Linked DNA regions of Homo sapiens: region 1 is linked to region 2. Evidence: promoter capture Hi-C in human tissues and cell types (Jung and others, 2019). All regions are on one chromosome and are shown on one strand. The core of a region is centred on a gene start or on the middle of the fragment in contact, and the rest is flanking DNA. Distances in the headings are between cores, read along the strand shown.

Region 1 (4,938 bases), core at 591-3,090, 1.0 Mb before region 2:
TTGGCTATGGAAATAAATTGGACAGAAGGACTCAGAGGAGTGCTTAGTCGAGTGTGATGATTTAGAGACTGCCTGGACAATATAATAAGAAGAGGACAAAACCCCTGACTAACAAATGGGCAATGATTTAAACAGATTTTTCACCAAAGAAGATGGCAAAGAAGCCTGTTAAAAAATGCCCAACATTATGGCTCGTCAGGGAAATGCAAATTAAAACCACAGTGACGTGCCACTCGTGCTCAATAGAATGGCTAAAATGAAAACAAAACAAAATAGTACTGATAATACTAAGTGCTGGTGATGATGTGGGGCACCTGGAATCCCACATGTAGGTGGTGGAAATACAAATGGTTTAGCCACTTTGCAAAGCTGTTGGTGGTTTCTTACAAACATACTTAGCACACAACCCAGTAATCCCACTCCTAGGTTATTTACCTGAAAGAAATGAGAGCATATGTCCACAGCAAGACCTAGAGTGCATCTGTGTGCAGTTTTTCCCTTGTGTTCCACCAGCCCAGGGAAAGCAGACATTGAGGCAGCACACGATAGTGCACAGGCTTTGTCCTGTAATCATTTATCTCTGCTTTTTATAATAAACTGAAAACTGTGTATTCGAGGTGGAAGTGATTAGATTCTTAGCTCTGGAGGGAAGGGAGAAATGGGTATGTGGTTCTTGATTAACCTAAACCAATTGAGTAACTAGTTCCTTTGCCACAATGATTGGTTCAGGGATGGTCAGGTAACCTGAGTTGGCTCAATCAGATTTTTGTTTGATGATGCTATGGGGGGATGGGGAATGAGATGTGGTGGCCAAGGAGACATCCTCTTTCTCTTTCCTGGCCAAAGTGGTATGTGTACCTGAGGCCTGAAAATGCTACAGCTATTTTCTGCCATTAAAAAAAAAAAACTAGTATGAGGAAGGAAACAGAGGAGATTAGAGATAAAAGAATCACAACAATGGGGCTGGAAGTCCTGATCAAGTCATACCTGATGTCCACTTTCCTTTGCATTTTTCAGAGACATCTATAAATTTCCTTCATTTAAGAAGCCAGTTAGAGTTGGGATTTTTTTTTTGTTGTTACCTGAAACTGAAAGCTTCTAATTAGTCTAGATGTGGATCTGAGAATGAATCTGACTTCAGGAGATCGTATCAAAGAAGTGGAACAAGCAAGACACACGTTTTGTGAGCCCAGATCAAAGCTAACACAGAGATCTGGGGTGAAGTTGTAGAGGCAATGAAAACAGAGCAGCACAGAGCCAGGTGGGTGGCCTTAGCAGAACTCTGGGCCTGGGACCAACAGCATCTGTCAGGGGGAGATCAGGTGTGGGGCCCTGTCAGGACCTGGCCTTGAGGGGGTTGGGGTGGGGATGGCCAGAGAAAAGAAACTATGAGGGGACAGTGCAAGAGACAGCCTCAGGCAGATGGTCAGTCATAAGACTGGGGCCTCAGCAGGACTGTCTACCTTTCCTGGACCAACTGCTGGAGGCTGCCTCTCATCCAGGGCCACGCTTGGTCTAGAACGTGATGAGAGCTGAGCCTGCAGATGGAGCTGAAGCAGGTGAGCTGCTCTTCTGATTCAGTTGGCCTTGGGCTAGGGCTGGGGCTCTGCTTCTAACAGGAATCTGCCTCCTGATGCCACAGCCTGCAGAAGATGCCGGGAGAAACCCAGTTTTACTGGGTGTGATGGAATTCACTGGCTGCCTCAGCTGGACCTGACCTTGGCCTTGGTCTACTCCTGCACTTCACATTCTGCTCTCTGCTACTCACAGGATCATGTACGGAAGCACGCTGGCTCCTGGATGAGGCCTTCTGCCACACCTGCCCTCTTGGTTTCTCAACAGATCACTTGCTCTCTTCCTTGCAATTTCATCTCCCTCCCTGGAATGGATGTTAGGCCTCCAGCCCCTATTTTTAGGTTTGGCAGCACTATGGGTGTGTGGTTTTTGGCCTCCCCTGTCCTCTGTCCCCAGCTTCTTGGAAAATCTGGATGCATCTCAGGATTGGAACAGGGGAGCTGTGTGTTGGGTTTTGTCTGGGGAACAATAAGATAGAAATCAAGGTGTACGGGGTAAGCTGGGGCAGCCTGTGGGTGTCCCGCTGTGTTTATCAGCCTGAGTCCTCCATCTGTGGTGGAAGCAAAAGCCCAGCTGTGGGAGATGCCATCTGAGTATAAGAGAAACTTCTAGCTGCACATTGTTTGTGCTAAGTAAAATATTAGGTTGGTGCAAAAGTAATTGCGGTTTTTGCCATTACTTTCAATGGCAAAAACCGCAATTACTTTTGCACCTATCTAATACTTCCATTGTAGCAGGGGCTACCACCATTTTGCTGATGTGTCTGTTTTCTTGGCATTGACCCCAGATCCTACACTCAAAACTTCCAAAGAACACATAAAATCCAAGGCTAATCATAAGAATGCAATGATAACATCTGGAGGTTTTTAAATCGTAGATTCCCCCTTTTGGAAGGAGAATGGAATTTATAACCAACTGATGTGAGCTCAAATTCAGTCTTAACTACCAGACAATAGACTCTTTGCCATCTGGGGAATACTGAATCCCCCAGTATCCATTTCCTTGCCTGTAAAGAAGGATGATAACTATCTTAAAACTCAGTGGGTGTATTTCCGCAAATATTTTTACAGAATCTAGTGTGGTGCCTGAACGTTAGAGAAGCTTAATAAACAGTAGCTGGTATTTTTAACATTAGAGAAAATTCTTTAAATGCAAGATGTCCTGGCCCTAGACACTTTATAGTCTGCCTAGTACTAAAGCTTGTGTTTCATCCAAGGGAGCTGAAGATGAGACCCAGGAAGTGTATTGTTTTAAAGTCTTTGTCTTGAGTTCATAGCAAATGTTTTACTATGAGCTCACTCATATTTCCCCACCTTTACCATTTCAGGCCCTTTCCACTGCTGTCCCCTAGATCTCTTTGCCTGGGGGTTTTCCCTGGGCCCCAAGGTCCACTCCGCCTGAGCCCAGCAAGCTGGAATGCTGGGGAATTAATATCCCTTAAGTGCAGTCTTTAACCAATGAATGATGGAAGCTGGTGGAGAAATACTCTAGCTCCCCCGCCTCCTTACATGAGATAACTTAGTGGCTCTCCAGTTAAACTGTCTCCCAGTTCCCACAGAAGAATTAGATCTCTGTTACCCACAGTGATAACTGGCTTGCTAACACACTTTCCTCCACTGCTTTCTCTTCCTTGCCTTCCTTCCACACTGTCCCACAAGCACTTCCTGGGATCACCTTTCAAATCAACTGTTTGCACTTGAGTCCTTGCTTAGAGTCTCTTGGGGAAGCCCAAATGCAGGTGGATTTCAATTCAGAGGTGCAATCTTTGGGTGCTGCTAGGGTTTGTTTAAACGAGCCAGTATTATTTGAAGAAAGGCAAACCCAGCCAAGATGAGATGGGCCTTGCCAAAGAACATCAGGCACATTTTAAGCATGCCAGTAGGGCTGATGTTGGAGCTCTTTATTATAAACTAGAGCCATCTGCCGGCCTGTAATAACCTGAATATGAAAGTCCTAACCTGGGATGCAGTTAAACTGCATAATTTCTGTTTGTGGTTAGGCATTTAAATCTTAACATGCTCTGAACGGCAGATCGAAATTCACAAGTACATTGTTTTACAAAACTGGCATGAAGTCCCTTCAATACAACGTACAAGATACATTAGTATGTTGCATCAAGAGCTCGGTGTTTTCTCTTTGTTGTTATTATTCTTCGTTTTTAAATAAAGGAAACTTGTAGGACCACAGCCTTGTAAATGTCTTGAAGTGATGCCAAGAACCTCTCTATAAGCCACTTTCTAAAAAGCAATTTCCTTTTTGTCCCATAAAACTCCCCAAAGCACCTTAGGTGAACACCAAAGCGAGGGTTATGTTTGCAAACTGCAAATACAGCAGACATTTAATTACACTGAATTCATCAAAACCCTAATTGAGACAGGAACTCAAACCTTATAGCTTAATTACTTTAATTTCAGATGGATAACAGACTTGGTCATGTGCAACCCTCCATGCTGAAATTCATAGAGGGAGGCCCACGGGCACTCGCTGGTAATTCTCCCAGCCAAATGAAAGTGCAGATCAACATAAATAAAATGCTAAGTGAAATCCATGATTGGATTTATTAATCGCTTCAATTCCCAATATCCAGCCTTTGCCGTAACATTCCACTGCACCAACTCCACCGCCTGGGAGAGCTTCTCCCTGTTTGAGGCTGGGAAGCTGTCATTTCTTTTTTTTCACCTCCCACTGGTAGACAGCACAGAAGTAAGTACTAGTCCTTTGAGACTGTTTTTCTACGAACATCTCCTTACTTTGATTTACATTTAGAAGACCTTCTCCCTGACTATCCCTTTCCTTCCCACTGAGTATCCTGTGTCTGTTAATTAAGCTGTGGACACCCTTGACTGTTAGATAAGTTCCATCAATGAGTTGGTCAAATTATCACAGTGACCTAGGTGGAATTTGGAGGTGAGAACCCCAGGGATGCGTATTCTGAGCATAGCTAATGGTGTCTAACTGAGACTGACTTACCATGTAGAGCAGGTCTATTAATGCTGAACATGCTACAATTCATCTTGATGGCAACACTAGGAAGTAGGTGTGCTTGTACCCACTCTATAGATGAGAAAAATGAGGCTTTGAGAACATAAGTAACTTCTCCAGGGTTCCACAGCCAGAAAATGGCAGAATCAGGATTTAAACCCAGACCCGTCTGATTCCCCAGCCCATGTTCTTCCCAAAACATAATTTTGCTTCCTCTGCAAAGACTTGAAGGATCCTACAAAACCCTGAGCTGGATGGCCTTGAAAATCTCCAGTTTGGCACATGACAGGAAAGTCAGAAGGAAAGGTTGGCATCCAGAGTCATCGCGTGGACTGTGGACTGCTTCTCCCAACAGTCATGGTTGTTACTTCTGTCCATGGC
Region 2 (4,789 bases), core at 2,072-4,571:
CAGTAAATAACAGTGTAGTGAAAATCTTCGTACACTAAAGCCTTTTCTACAGTTAGGATTATCTGCTTAGATTCTAGAATCACTGTCAAAGAATTTTGACAGTTTTATAATTATCTTAACATGAAACAAATTATGGCCCAAAGTCTATATATGACACAGAGACTGCTGTCTTATTTTGGAGCAGTTTTGTCCCCCCTCCAGGGACAAGTAGAAGGACTAGGAGATTCAAAAGGATTTTTTATTATAAGTAAATGGATCACCAAGGGAAAAAATCTGAGAATCACCACTTTGAACAAAAGATCAAAGGGCTGGAAAAGACTGAGATGTTTGGTCAATTTTTCTACCTACTAGTGGCATCAGACCTGAGATCTCTACTTCAAGAATTCATAACCTTTGAAGTTAACCTAGTTAAACCCAAACATTTTAGATCCTCTTCCAACACTGTTCACAGACATCAAATTTTAGCTGCTGACAATGAATGATGGGACATGGGGGTTATTGCCCTATTCCGTCTGTTAATATGTTTGAAATGTGCCATAATAAACTTTTAAAAATTAGATTATCACAGTACCCAACCTAAGGCATCAAAATGTGTTTGATCAAGCTGGGTGCAGTGGCTCATGCCTGTAATCCCAGCACTTTGGGAAGCCGAGGCAGGCAAATCACTTGAGGCCAGGAATTTGAGACCAGCCTAGTCAACATGGCAAAACCCTGTCTCCACTAAAAATACAAAAAAATTAGCCAGGCACAGTGGCGCGCACCTGTAAGACCAGCTACTCAGGACACAGAGGCATGAGAATCGCTTGAACCCAGGAGGCAGAGGCTGCAGTGATCAGAGATGGCACCACTGTACTCCAGCCTCGGCAACAGAGCAAGACTCTCTCAAAACAAAAACAAAACCAATTAGCCAATTGGAGAAATCTGATGGACTGGGCATCAAATGATATTACAGGGTTACTATAAAAAAAAATGTGTTTGACCAATCACATAAATTGAATATACCACATAGTAAAATGTGTGACTCCTAAGCTGGACATAGCGGTGGCGGCACACGCCTGTAGTCTAACTACTCAGGATGCTGAAACTAAAGGATCACTTGAGCCCAAGCGTTTGAGGTTGTAGTAAGCTATAATAGTGCCACTGCACTCCAGCCTGGGTGACAGAGCAAGACCCCATCTCTAAAACAAACAAACCATAAATGCATAAATTTAAAATAAATGTGAAGTCAACCAACTATTTTAAAATAAAATAAAATGTGTGACTCCTGATAATCTATGCTGTCCTGACCATAAAACAGGAAGTTAACATTTTAGAACCCCTAAAATAAAATGCCATTCAAACACAGCCACATTTCAGTGAAACCAGCCACATTTTAAAGGAATCAGAAAATCCCTTTCCATTACAATGCAACTAGAAGGCCTGCATAAGTGGAGGGCCCTTCTAACAGAATTCCACAGTTCCCCAACCCAGAATTCCCGAATTATTTACACTTTCCCATAATTAACACCCTTATCTTTTTTAATATGCAGGTTTGGTTGTTTTAACTGAAAGCATATAACTTAAATAGTGAACCAAAATAACCCAAACTCTTATTCAGCACATCTCACAGAATACACATTTTCAATATTCCAGATTAGCAGGATGGAGAGTTCAGGAGAGAGATCAAAATTTAAATCTGTCAGTGACGACCACACACAGCAGCAGACTGCAAGGTTCTTCTCAATAATGCAAAACATCTTTCATCTATGAATTTTCCCAGTTTTCATGAATTTAAATATCTACAGAAATGTTATAAAAGCTTTAAAATTCCTAAATCCCAGTGCTACTCTATTCCCTATTATTCCAGGACCATTTCCAAAACCAAAGCTACCAGAACAGCTTAGAAATCATTAGGCGGGGTTGAAAAATAGACTCTTAGATTTAAATATACGGTTTTGGTGGGTTTGGTTGTTTCTTTAGGGTTTTTTGTTGTTTTTGTTTTGTTTTGTTTTTTGTTTTGGGGTTTTGTTTGTTTGTTGTTTTTTGAGACAGAGTCTCGCTCTGTCGCCCAGGCTGGAGGTTACTGGCACAATCTCGGCTCACTGCAACCTCTGCCTCCCGGGTTCAAGCGATTCTCCTACCTCAGCCTCCCGAGTAGCTGGGATTATAGGCACCAACCACCGCTCCCGGCTAATTTTTGTATTTGTAGTAGAGATAGGGTTTCTCTATGTTGGCCAGGCTGGTCTCGAACTCCTGGCCTCAGGTGATCTGCCCGCCTTGGCCTCCCAAAGAGCTGGGATTACAGGTGTGAGCCACAGCCCCCGGCCTGTTTTGTTTTTAATTCATACTTTTGTGGACACAAGAACGCATATTTGGTGCAGACTGGCTCCAAGGACAGGATATCTGAAATTATTTGAACTGAAACAATATAGTTGTGCCAATAAAGACAGAAAAGACTAAAGACAATATAAAGCTTGTCATTTAAATGTTTTTTAAAAAATATCTTTCGTACCGTGGTTTTCTTAAAACGACTACTTTATCTACACTAATCATCTGGACCTCTGATGCCCAACCGAGACGAAAGTGCTGAGTGATGACCAGGGGTCGGGTAGCTTGGTCCACAAGAAAAAGAGAAATGTTTTCATCTTGAATTCTTTAGATCCCGACCCCTCCGCGCAGAGTTCAGCGGGCGAGGGCGAGGGGCGTCCTGGGCAGGGGGCGCCCCTCATCCAGCCTAGGCTCCAGTCACGTACGTGCACGCAACTGTCAAAGCTCAGCCCAAGGAGCAACTCTCCGCATCTGTGCATTTCATCCTGAGTCAAGCCCCATAAAAATTGGAATACGTAAAAATGGGCAAAAATTGAACATTTAAAATACAGCAGTGAAAAGGGAGGAGTGCCTGCTCCGGAAATGCTCTAAGCGTGGTTCATCAACACTCCCTGAAGAGCGGACCACGGAGATGCTCCGAGGCTCCGCCATCCCGCACGCAGGACAAAGGTGCTGAGAATGAGGCGCGCTGGTCCTGCACCCTCTGCCGAGAGCCGGAAGCCAGGGGCGCGCCGGGGCCGGTCGGGCACGTGCAGGGGGCTCTCCGGCCGCCGCGCTGCCCCGAAGCCGGCCCTGGGGACTCGCGGCTGCGCGGACCGAGCTCGCGAAGGGGACCAGGCTCGCGGAGGGGCCGCAGCGGCCCCAAGGATGGCGCAGGAAGACCCCCCACGCAAGACAGCCGGTCGCGGGGGTCAGGGGCGGCTCCTCCCGGGCCCGGCCCCGCCCGACTGACCTGTGACGCTGGCCCGGGTGACGCGCTGCACCACGGCCTTCATGGCGGCGGCTGGGGCGAGTGGGGCGGCGCCGCGCTGCGTCCGGCCTCGCGACTCTGAGGGCGGCTCCGCAGCCGGCGCCCTCTGGAGGTGACACCCGGAAGCGCGCCCAACTGGCCGGTCCGACTCGGTCGGCTGCTACCCACCCCACGTCGGCCACGCCCACTCTCGGCCTGGCGATAGGCCCACCCACTCATAGATTGACTCCGCCTATGCCTGCCACGCCCACCTGCTGCCCAACCGTAACCCCGCCCGTCATTGAAAAGCCCAGTCCCCACGCTCGGCCCTGCCCCATCCACATCTGGGTCCCGCCAGAGCCCTTTGATCCCCCCATCCCGGGCCCAGCCCCTACCCAGTGCCCAGAACCCACTCTGCCCCGAAGGTAGTCTCTATGCTGGTTTTTTTCTCCCACATACCCGAACCTAAGAACCCGTCATCACTAAGCCTTTAAATTCAGCCTGAATCCTATTTCTAATTGTATTCCTCTTTCCTCTTCCACTCCTCTGCACGCAGATCCTCCCAAATTCTTCTTCCTTGTCTTCCTGCCTCAGTGGCTTTTCAGATACCACATACAAAAGGATCTGCTGCCTAAAATAGCCATTTACCTATCTCACTATTAATTCGACTTAGCCATGTCATGATAATAAATAGGTATGTGATTCTAGAATTCTAATTTCTCATGTAATATAAATGCTACTAATTGGCCCCCTCACTGGGTTGTTAGATTTAAATGAACCAAACCACGTAAAAGTGCTTAGATGGCAGCAAAGGGCTGTACAACTATTACCCCAACAAATTATTATCATTGCTAAAAATAATTCCATCTCAGCAGTCTTCACCTTAAAGGTGACTAATAGCATTGGTGGGCGTAGAAAAGGCACTGAAATTGAGAAGAAACCCTCACTTGCCCAGAAAAGACTACAAACTAGTGTGCTTGTTTGTTAAATACTGAATACTAAATTGCCTTAATAACGTTGTCAAAGTTAACATAACCAGTAACAAGACATCATGTGCCTCCTGATATTGCACTGGGAAGGACACAACATCAATCTTGTGGTATTTCTGCCAAATAATGTATAACCTGAATCCAATCATGATGAAACATAGGACAAAAATAAATTGAGGAACATTCTACAAAATAACCAGGTAGGATTCCGAGAATTAAGGAGGATTTTTTTTTTTTTTTTTTTTGAGATGCAGTTTTGCTCTTGTGGCCCAGGCTGAAGTGCAATGGTGTGATCTTGGCTATCCACAACTTCTGCCTCCTGGGTTCAAGCAATTCTTCTGCCTCAACCTCCTGAGTAGCTGGGATTACAAGCATGCGCCGCCACGCCCGGCTAATTTTGTATTTTTATTAAAGATGAGATTTCTCCATGTTGGTCAGGCTGGTCTCGAACTCCCGACCTCAGGTGATCTGCCCGCTTTGGCCTCCCAAAGTGCTGGGATTACAGGCATGAGCCACTGCGCCCAGCCGTGGACTTTTTAAAAGA

What was found. The method cuts DNA at HindIII sites, captures the fragments that hold promoters and counts their contacts. A contact is called where the count stands out against the background at its distance.
Region 1: a fragment that was not itself captured here is called in contact with the fragment with the promoter of DTD1 in region 2 in 1 of the 25 tissues and cell types used here (dorsolateral prefrontal cortex).

Annotation. Positions count from the first base shown.
Region 1 is chr20:19,587,463-19,592,400 of GRCh38, reverse strand. All of the region lies in intron 6 of SLC24A3 (solute carrier family 24 member 3), which reads right to left. Among named protein-coding and RNA genes, the nearest start is that of RIN2, 170 kb to the left of the region's middle. The HindIII fragment of the contact is 4,304 bases long and covers 1-3,992 here.
Region 2 is chr20:18,586,586-18,591,374 of GRCh38, reverse strand. It overlaps DTD1 (D-aminoacyl-tRNA deacylase 1), which reads right to left and starts at 3,321. Exons shown (of 6, transcript NM_080820.6): 1 at 3,260-3,321. The coding sequence starts at 3,302. It overlaps LOC124904878 (a long non-coding RNA gene), which reads left to right and starts at 3,910. Exons shown (of 3, transcript XR_007067547.1): 1 at 3,910-3,950. RefSeq lists enhancers at 2,785-2,844, 2,685-3,184 and a silencer at 2,955-3,494. The HindIII fragment of the contact is 3,504 bases long and covers 2,126-4,789 here.